Linked DNA regions of Homo sapiens: all the other regions are linked to region 3. The links are contacts of gene promoters, found by promoter capture Hi-C in blood cells and fetal thymus (Javierre and others, 2016). All regions are on one chromosome and are shown on one strand. Each heading gives the region's core, a stretch centred on a gene start or on the middle of the fragment in contact. The rest is flanking DNA. Distances are from core to core; before and after follow the strand shown. Region 1 overlaps FRMPD3 (FERM and PDZ domain containing 3). Region 2 holds the start of FRMPD3-AS1 (FRMPD3 antisense RNA 1). Region 3 holds the start of MORC4 (MORC family CW-type zinc finger 4).

The links. The method cuts DNA at HindIII sites, captures the fragments that hold promoters and counts their contacts. A CHiCAGO score of 5 or more calls a contact.
Region 1: a fragment that was not itself captured here is called in contact with the fragment with the promoter of MORC4 in region 3 in 2 of 17 cell types (M2 macrophages and M0 macrophages); the score reaches 5.5 in M2 macrophages.
Region 2: the fragment with the promoter of FRMPD3-AS1 here is called in contact with the fragment with the promoter of MORC4 in region 3 in 2 of 17 cell types (total CD8 T cells and naive CD8 T cells); the score reaches 6.0 in total CD8 T cells.

The regions. Positions count from the first base shown.
Region 1 is chrX:107,524,951-107,528,369 of GRCh38, reverse strand. It overlaps FRMPD3 (FERM and PDZ domain containing 3), which reads right to left. Exons shown (of 15, transcript NM_001388459.1): 2 at 1,634-1,788. The coding sequence starts at 1,781. The region is part of intron 1 of FRMPD3-AS1 (FRMPD3 antisense RNA 1); the gene reads left to right. Among named protein-coding and RNA genes, the nearest start is that of FRMPD3-AS1, 19 kb to the left of the region's middle. The HindIII fragment of the contact is 1,498 bases long and covers 1,380-2,877 here.
Region 2 is chrX:107,544,540-107,547,787 of GRCh38, reverse strand. FRMPD3-AS1 (FRMPD3 antisense RNA 1) reads left to right here and starts at 1,967. Exons shown (of 2, transcript NR_046750.1): 1 at 1,967-2,073. It overlaps FRMPD3 (FERM and PDZ domain containing 3), which reads right to left. Exons shown (of 15, transcript NM_001388459.1): 5 at 1,947-2,051. The HindIII fragment of the contact is 5,600 bases long and covers 1-3,248 here.
Region 3 is chrX:106,998,089-107,001,551 of GRCh38, reverse strand. It overlaps MORC4 (MORC family CW-type zinc finger 4), which reads left to right and starts at 1,340. Exons shown (of 17, transcript NM_024657.5): 1 at 1,340-1,684; 2 at 1,803-1,875. The coding sequence starts at 1,583. RefSeq lists silencers at 1,276-1,355, 1,366-1,575. The HindIII fragment of the contact is 4,977 bases long and covers 1-3,386 here.

The DNA.
Region 1 (3,419 bases), core at 879-3,378, 530 kb before region 3:
CCCTTTGATGGTACCGGTAACATCAGTCTACTACTGCTTTCACAAATGGTTTGTTGGCTTGATCAACCATAATTGCTCCTCTGTAGGACACTTTTTTTGTCTTTATTACGGCCTCAAATAAAGAACCAAACAAGTCCTGTGCATTCAGGAGCCACCTGGGCCAGAAGCAGCACTACGGATCAGCTTTTTATAGGGCTTTTATAGGGCTATGCATGCCAGCCCCATGGCTTTTTGTGGTTCGTGCCTGGGGATTTTCTTCTCTTGACCCCTCCAACTCCTTCTTCATTGTTATACCTTTGGCAGCTGAACCCCTCTAGGCCTGGGGGCTTCCTTCAGCTGTGCAGATTCTGTCTCATTTGAAGTTAAAGTAGGGGCTCCTGGTGGTCTATTACTGAATGTTAGCTGGTCCCCCTTTCCTCTGATTTCTGATCAGAGATTCAAAACCTTTTTGCCAAACTGCATGGCTGACTCCAGAGCCTTAGGTCAGCCACGGACTCCTGTACTAAATTGTTGTTGTTGTGTGTGTGTGTGTTTTTTTTCCTCTGTGCCCTCTAGTTGAAGAGAGAGCTTACAAAAATCTTTTTCTTTCCCTTGGAGGATTGCAAAATTCATCAAATTTCTGCAAGACCAGTTTGTACTCTGGCTGCTCCTCTTGACTGAGCGAGAAACTGTTGTAAACATCTAAAGCCTCAGGCCCAGCAAGTCAGGAATAAAGCTCCATTCCGTCTGTCTTTTTTGTCAATGCCTAGCAGATTCGAAACAAAACAGTACTTCAGTCTTTTTCCATTTCATTCATGATAGCAGGGCTTCATAGCTTAGGTGGGGCTTTGCTTGTTCCATCCCACATGGTCCCTTTCAGGCCCTACTTCCCCTGCATGGCATCAAACAGGCCCAGGTGCAAACCCTGGCTCTGTTGCTTTATAGCTGAGTGACACTGGACAAGCCACTTCTCTTTCATTATGCCTCAGTTTCCTCGTTTGCAAAATGGGAATGATATTACTTATTTACTTTGCAGGGGTGGCTGTGAGAATTAAACAATATGATGTAAAGCACATTGTAGATGCTTAATCAATGGTAGATGTTTGTTACTGCCACTCAAGCATTCAGAGATTCCATTATCCTCTCCTCTCCTATCCCACCTGTGGTCTGTATCTTGATTCTGGTCTTCAATGGCTGACCTGTTTCATGAGTATATACATGTCTCCACAGCCTGATGGTTAGGTTCTTGAGAACAGGAACTGTGTCTTGTACTTCCCGACAACATTGCTGGGCTTAGAGTAGGCAATCTATAGATACTTGTTGAATTAAATAGAATAGGTACATTTTTTTTTTGCAAGACATTATGGTTCTTTTATGAATGTTCTATGCAAAGGGAAGCTTTATTAAGACCCAGACACTGTTAAACAATCAACTGCAGCCTTTTTCTAGGGCCCCAAACAGCCTCAATTGTTGTGTCTATCAGTCTTAAAAGGCCAGCTCCCTCACACAGTTATTGGTTGGCAAGTCTTCAACCAGTCTTCATGAATTCTTCAGCAAGACAGTTAGAATGCTTGGAAGCTCTGCTTTTTGGGAAGATATGTGGGTGTTGGGAGACAGGAGTCAGGGCTAGGGGAACACTCTGAGGGACACCTACCTGGCCTCACAGATCGAACCACCACAGGCCTCTCACTGCCAGCCACGAAGCCAAAGCCATATATAGGGTCTCGGTGAACGGTCACTTGTCGCAGTATCTCTGCTGGCAGCTGCTCACATTCCATATCATTTGCGCTCTCTTCCTGCATCACATGACTGGGGAAAAGGGAAGGTGGGAGCAAAACAAGATGCACAGGGAACTAAGCCTCAGAACCAGCAGGGAGAGATGCCAGTTAGGGTTCTGGCCCTGGCACCCAGGAGTTTACAGCTTAGCTTCCTACATCCTCTGGAGCCAACAGAGATGATGACTGCCTCATATTTCAGATTGGAGAAAGAGAAATCTAGAAAGTAGAAGCTACTGTCTTCAGGGCTACAGCCAATAGAAGAAACTGACGTCATGAGCCTGAAATTAGAGTCAGACCCTTCCTCTCAGATATTGGAACTCCAGAAGGAACCCAATGCAAATATTCTGCAGAAGTTAACTGTCATCCTCCACTGACTTAGCTATTAACTCCGTAAAGGAAACCAAAGCCTTGCAGGAAGAGACCACAAGACAGGCAAGTAAGTGGCGGAAGAAATGTAAAGTTGTTCCAGAAGATGGAGCATCTTCATGAAGCCCTGATGCAATATTTTAAATTTTTTTTTTAATTTTTATTTTTTTTGAGACAGAGTCTCACTCTGTCACCCAGGCTGGAGTGCAGTGACACGATCTTGGCTCACTGCAACCTCCACCTCCCGGGGTCAAGCGATTCTCCTGCCTCAGCCTCCCGAGTAGCTGGGACTACAGGCATGTGCCACCACGCCTGGCTAATTTTTGTATTTTTAGTAGAGGTGGGGTTTCGCCATGTTGGCCAGGCTGGTCTCGAACTCCTGGCCTCAAGTGATCCTCTCACCTCAGCCTCCCAAAGTGCTGGGATTACAGGCGTGAGCCACCATGCCTGGCTCATCTTGATGCAATTTTAAACTTGAATACATCTTAAGTTGTATACAAAAATAAATGATTTAAGTAGCATATATAAATAAATGTGCTAATGTCTGGGACCAAAATTGTCCATAATGCCAACTTCTTTCAGTTAATGAGACACCTGGAAAAGAGTTCCTGTTGGCCAGAAGGGGAGCTGCATCCTGGGGCTGCCAGCAGGCCTGAAAGCCCAGAGGAACTGGGAGAAGAGAAATTACTGCCCTAACTCCAGGGAGAGATTACACATTGTTCTCCCGATTTCCACAACTTAAGTAACTAAAGCTTAGGAATTCCACAAAAGCTTCATAAATGTTCTCCATCAAGGGCCAGGGGAGGCATACTGCAGGCAAGAAGGGGTCTGAGTGTAGTATTCAAACAAAGAGCACTGAAGGATAAGGGTGTAGAGACACTGAGGCCTGTGATAGCACTGGTGCCAAGGCCAGGGAAGAAGGTAAAAGGAGGAATGGATGGTCAAGGAGAAGGGCAGGGCAGGTGGAGATGGAGGAGAGAGGGCCAGGGCCAAGTGGCCCAGAGCCTTAGCTCACTCATCTGGCACCACTACAGCCCCAGAATTTTAGGCCTTCTAGATAGACGGGTTTAAGTTTTCTAGCCTCAGTATGTGTATTTGCTAAAATTATGGTTCCAGGCAGAGCCCTTTGGAACAAGATACAGAGGGCCAGTAGCTAATTAATGAAACTAGTATAAGGTTTGTAAAAGAAGTAGGAGGTTTTGACATTCTGAGAGCAATGCAATTCTTTTTTTTTTTTTTTTTTTTTTTTTTGAGATGGAGTCTCCCTCTGTTACGCCAGCTGGAGTGCAGTGGCAC
Region 2 (3,248 bases), core at 718-3,217, 550 kb before region 3:
GCTGCTTAATAAAGCCTTGGAACACGAAAGGAAAGGGTTGATAGGAGAGCCTGGAGTCACTTGGGCCTGGACTCCCCCGGCTCCCGACCTGTGATGAGGCTGCTATGGTCCATACTGGCGGCAGCATGGAGGAGGGTGATGTTGTAACACCAGGTAATTTCACGAGTGCAGTGAGAGTTGGAAGATTGATGTCTGTCTCTCACCCAGACAAGAGCCTCACACTATGCCTGGTGGCCTGTCCGAGAGAATGAGGTCACTCTAGGTGGGTCCTAGCTACTCTGTGGCATTTGCATTCAGAATAGACTGGAGTGGGGGGCATCGTTACGCCTGTAGACTAGCTGTGCCTGTAACCTAGCTGTGACGTATGGAGAGGGGAATCATGGTGGAAGAAGGAGAAAGTGGAGAAGGGGAAGTAGAAGGGAGAGGAAGAGAAGAGAGGGGAGGGGAGTGGGGAGGAAGGGAAGGAGTTCTTCACTGGGTGGCCTGCCCTTGACTGATTACTCTGCAATGTTGAGATGGCATAGGATAAGCCTGTTCATACTTACCAAATCCAAGTCATACGTCCTCTGGGTTTTCAAGCATTCAGGACACACATATCCTCCTGGTGACTTGGACCTCGGGGTCTGTTTCACCCTGATTTGCAGGGACTCCATATTACTCCTTTTCCCCTCTGCTCATCAATGATCACTTCTCTTAAAACTTTTCTTCTAGGATTGACACAGATCCCAACCATCAATTATTCAGACAGCTTGCCCAGTGGGGTCCTGTAGTCCCCTGGGTTTGCCAGCCTTCCTCATGCAGAGATGGAGGAGGGCATAGACTGAGTTTGGGAATGAGAGTCAGGGAAATGGAGATGGAAGACACCTGTGTCCTCTATACCTTCTTCTCACTAATTCTGCCTTAAATAATATAGAAGCGCCTGGCACCCTGCTGATTTCCCTGCTCTGGGCCTGCTATCTTCTCCCAACAACTGTGGCTGTTCCTCAGTACGTAAATGCCAAGGGCCTCCAGACAGCTCTGCCCATCACAGCTATCAAAAGCACACAAGTGCCTGTTAGCTCTAGCTATCCCCTCTGTCCCCACCAGGTTATCACTAACTTCTGCAGATTCCTGAAGGACTCGGCCAGAATGCATGACTGCTTAACACACTTCTTTTCTGCTCTTCACCTGCCTCTTCTCATTTGCACATCTGGAGCCGACAGTTCACTGCATGTAAACCTCCCAAAGCAGTGAGAAACACTGTGGCTGGCCAAGACTCCCCAAATTGGCAGCTGCATGGCATGGGCTGTCAAATATTACCTGTCTTTCGAAACAATACCACCCCGTAGTAGATTTTGTATTGTCTCAATCTGAACCTCTTGTCCCCCTCAACATTGCTGAGAGGTATCTGGTAGCAGGGAACAGGTATTTATTTTGCCTCCCCTCTGGTGCTAAGAACATAGCAGGTGCCTAATAAAAACTTGGTGACTTAATGAGAGTCTGTATCATTTCCTTTAGGCAACTTTACTCACCACTGCATGGCCTTTTCTGGTCAAGATGTGGAGTTGCAAGATCACTTAAATGTGAAGAGAGCTCAATTTCACCAGCCACTCATTCCCTGAGTCTTCAGGAAGCCATTATTTCCTTCCTGTTTCTATCAAGTAGCAAAAGATGTTTATGGAGCACTTGCTTTGAGTGTAAGCTACTGTGTTAGGGATGGAAATTTCTCTAAGCATCAGAAGGATCTTGAGTGAATCAATATATATTCCTTCTCCCCACAATGCCTGGGGCCTCTCTGGATGTCACGTATCCCTCTTCACTCACTACTTTTCCCCCTCCAGCACCTGGACGCTCCCACTCTAACCCATTCGGAAAGCTGTCCACTATAAGAAGCCCCAGAGCGAGAGCTTGACAGCCAGGCAGATTATGGCCAGGGGCTGAGGAGAGGGAGCCAAAGCTACACTTACTGCATCTGTTTCTCCAACTGCCACCTGCTCAGAAAATCGAACCTTCACAGGATTGGACCTCAACTTGGCCTTCTTCGCAGCACTGATGAAAGCAGATTTGGGGGACTGGAAAAAGAACAGAGAGATGGTGAGTTCTCCATATCTAGGGAAAGCCTAACCTTTGTCACGTCAGAGTTAAGATGTCCCAGTACAGGTACACTTTGCATTACTGATCAAGGAGTCAATAAACAAATATTAATTACCTATTAGTTGCAAGGCAATGTGCTAAATGCTTCCCTATGTAATTGGTGTGTTCTGAAACAGCTGGGCATGAATTGAATTTGGGTAGATTGAACCCCATTATTAATACTCTAGGCCTAGGGGAGTTTGCAAAAGTTCTTTAGTAATAACATACATTGAGTTTTTATATATTTGGTTTTCTTACAGTGAGATAGACCTAAAGGGTGTCTTTTTATTATTATTATTATATCTGAATATAAGCATCCCAAATAATTTACAGAAATGATCTTGTTCACCTCACAGACATGTCCTGCCCCTAGGAAGGAGTTGCATAATAAATACTATTTTAGATGTGGGAGAAAGGAGACCTAGCACTCCAAAAGGATTTATCCACAGTTACTACACTATTGGGGAATAGAGATGTGAGAGATTTAACCCAAGTCTTCTGGCTTTCTAGTTTTGGGCTCTGCACCACTTTGTTTATCCAATTCTGTAAGAAATGCCCAAAAAATCAGCCAGGCTTGTATTTATTTATTTATTTTTAGACGGAGTTTCACTCTTGTCGCCTAGGCTGGAGTGCAATGGTGCAATCTCGGCTCACTGCAACCTCCGCTCCCTGGGTTCAAGCGATTCTCCAGCCTTGCCTCCTGAGTAGCTGGGATTACAGTCATGTGCCACCACACCCAGCTAATTTTGTATTTTTAGTAGAGATGGGGTCTCACCATGTTGGCCAGGCTGGTCTTGAACTCCTGACCTTAGGTGATCCACCTGCCTCAGCCTCCCAAAGTACTGGGCTTACAGGCCACCATGCCTGGCTGGCTTTTTAGTTCTTGAAAACTCTCCCACAATTTTATCAGAAGCATGATTAGCAAACACTGGAAACTAAGCCTTTCCTGGGTGCCCCTTGGATTCTAGCTCCCTGCTGAGCTCTGTAAGGCCCAGCAATTAGGAATACAGGAGTCGTGCTGAGGGGCATCCTCATTGTCTTTGGGGGGGCGTTTATTCATTCTTTTGACAAATTTAGCAAGGGCCTACTACATGCCACACACTGTTCTAGGTGATGAGGGATAGAGCAGTGAATAA
Region 3 (3,463 bases), core at 91-2,590:
AAGCACCCAATGGGGGTAAAAAATGATGCTCAAAGGACATAAACAGGCATTTGTAGAAGAGGAGATGCAAATGTATACTAAACATTTGAAAAGATATTCAGCCTTACTGGTAGTCAGGAAAATGCAAATTAAAACAATAAGGAGATACTATTTTTTATTGAAAAGACTATCAAAAAGTTAAAAGATTGGGACCATCTAGTGCTATGAACATGACAAAAGAGCACTGATTGTTGCTGGGAGGGCAAATTGCCTATCTTACAGTATTTATTAAGATTAAACCATGCACATGCTATTAGATGCAGCAGTCTCATCTTTTGGAATTCATTCTGTGGAGATAACAGTATCAGAAATTAATGACCTGTACACGAGTGTGTGAAGGAGCATTTTTTGTATTGTCAAAATTAAAAAAAGAGGACAACCTAAATTACCATAAAGGAATGGTCAAATAAATTATAGTTCATTCATGCCATAGAACATTACATATGTTTTTAATGAATCTGTTTTTCTATTATCAGTGTATATTTATAGTATATTAGAAAACACAGGTAAGAAAAAAGGAAAAAGTGTCTAGTTCCAGACCCAGAGATATCATCTTGGTGTATATCAAGTGGTTTTCGTTGTGTGTGTGTGTGTGTATATATATATGTATGTATGTATGTGTATATGTGTGTATGCATGCATATATATATATGTATATATGTATACATATATATTTGTTTTTCCAATAGAAAAGGCATCATGCGTTCCACAATATGTTGTAACTCCTTGTTTTCTTCATTCCTTCATGAATATTTTTCTACATCAACACATACTTATCTACAAACATGGCCTTCAAGAACTGGATGGTATTTCATTTTATGCATACTTCATAACTCGACCAATCCCCTACTTGGCGGTATTTAAGTGAATCCAATTTCTCCTTTTAGAAACACCGTCCCTGCATGCTAGCAAGACTTTGGAGATAGTTTGCTAATTGCCTTCCAGAAAGTTCTGGGTGCTTCTGGAGGCATTTGAGGCAGAGTAGGTAGAATGTTTTCCCATCAGGCGAGCTTGCTATCTTCCCAGATAGCAACACTGTAGTCTTTAGAACTTGAAAGACTTGTCTTATCTTGCCTGTTAGTCATGCAGCCTAAGCGGGACTAGGTTCCAGAAATCCCATACATGCTCTCCCTCCTCTTGCTTCATTCACGCCCCTCCCCACGCGCCACCCCCGCCCCCCGCGCTTTCCCGCTCGGCGGCCTGGCCTATGGCATACGCCAATAATTAATTAGGGGCGGGGATCAAGGAGCGGCTGTCAGGAGGTCGCCATATTTCTGTACGGCCCAGAGGCAGCCCGGGCAGTCGCCGGGTCGGTAGAGGTGCTGACAGGGCGGAGCCGCCGCTTGCCTCAGCCGGCCTCACCCCTCCCGCCCGGGACAGGTGGCTGGAGCGCGCTCCGCCTCCGCCAGCTGCGAGTGGGAGCGAGGGAGGGCCGGTCCCGGACGGTCGCCGCCAGCTGCGAGTGGAAGTGAGCGAGGGCTAGTCCCGGACCGCCGGGCCAGGGGTCCGGCGGCAGCAGACGGGTACCGTGGCGGCCAAAAAAATGCTCCTGTACCGAGGGGCCCCCGCCGGCCCTGGCGCGCCGGGCTGCGGGCTGGCCCGGCCCGGCGGCGGCCCGCAGGCCTTCGGGATCCGCCTGAGCACGGTAGGTCCGGGGCCCGAGGGGGCGGACGCGCGCGCGGGCCCCTGGGCTGCGGGGGGCGCGCGGGGAGGGCCCGGCGGGCCGAGGCCTCACGCGGGTCGGGACCTTCTCTCGCCCCCAGATGAGCCCCCGCTACCTCCAGAGCAACTCCAGCAGCCACACGCGACCCTTCAGTGCCATCGCGGAGCTGCTAGGTGAGTGGCGAGGGCGGGCCCGGCCGTGTTCGCCCGAGGCAGTGGTGCCAGCGTGGTGCCGCGGACGCGAGAGGAATGCGCAGAGCCGCGCGGGGCGGGCCGGGGCTGGGGTGGGGGCCTCGGAACCGGCCCCGGCTCCGCAGGCGGAGGAGGGGGATGGCTCTCTCGCCAGGAACTAGGTTCCGCTCATAAAACGGAGGAAACGAGGTGTGTCTGAAGCGTTAAAGACACCAGTGTGGTTTTTCTCTCGCGCTCGTGACGTTCGGGCACTTTAGGATAGCTTAGTTAGTAATCAAAAGGAGATGCATAAAAACCTCGGGCCCTGAGGCAGCTGGGTCCGCAGGGGCTGGCGACCGACGGAGGATGCCTAGCTAGCAAAGGGGCGTAGAGGACCGAGGCGGGTCCTGGGGAAAGGTCTGGAAAGCGGAGTTCCTTAACTTTTGAGACAAGAAAAGTTAGGAATGATGGGACATCTCTTAAGAGATGACACGAGTGCATTTGGCTCCCTGCTACTGCGGAGGGCTGGGTCCGTGGTCCACGAGCGCCCTCACACCGCTGGAATGAATATTGAGGACTTAACCTCTCGCTCCACCGGTGTTTGCTTTTAAAGTGTTTTCAGTTGATCCCTTCAAGCCAATTACACCAGTTTTTGCAGTAGTGTGCTACTGTGTGGAAAGCAAAGAAGAAACGCAGTCCTGCACAAAACGCAGCAGCATACAGGGCGCATTATACATGCTTTGAAAATCGAAAGAAGGAAGAAGTGTTTATGGGCAAGGTTGCACAGAACAAACTCTTGAAAATGTTTTCAAAGCTCCCCAAATGAACCCCGGTCTCTACTTAAGCAGTCGCTGTGGCCATGCCATGAGAGTTATCTTGGGTAAGAAGTCAATGGGTAGCAGGGGACTTACTTGGAAGGGTGATAAGAATGATAGAGACCTTTGATGATTAACCATAACACGGAATGCTTTACAATATGTGTAATTTAATTAGAAGGTGAAAGGCAAAAAGTGGAATTGATACGTTTGGAACCCTAGAGCAGAGGGACTGTATCTTTGAGGTTTGGTACTGTGCCTTGGGGCTGTGCACTGAACCTCTGCAGAATGGAATACAATCCAAGTTAAGTATGTAATTTACAAGAAAGACTACAAGGGAGCAAAAAGTAGTGATTTACATAGTGGGGGATGGGAAAGCGAAATGTATTGTTCTCTCATGGTTGGCACGGTGCAGAACGTGATATACCTGTGCTGTGCTTACTGTACTTTCCAGGTGATTTAATGAGTTTCCAATTTGTAATTTTGGATATTTGTGATTTTGGCCATAAGCATTACCTTAAAGAACCTAAGCCGGATCTAAGACGTCCAGTATGAGCGCGAGTATGTGTATGTATTATGCACACACATGCATGCATACATGTATACAAACATAGATTTTAAGACCAAATAACAACTATTTGTGAAAATATTAATAATAGGGAAAAGAGAGAGCAAAGTGTTAACTGGCAATCCAAAGCTTTCATTTTAGGTTTTCCTTCAATCATTTTCTCCACTTAAGCATTAATTTTCTAGTGAATCATTCATTTGGTAAATAT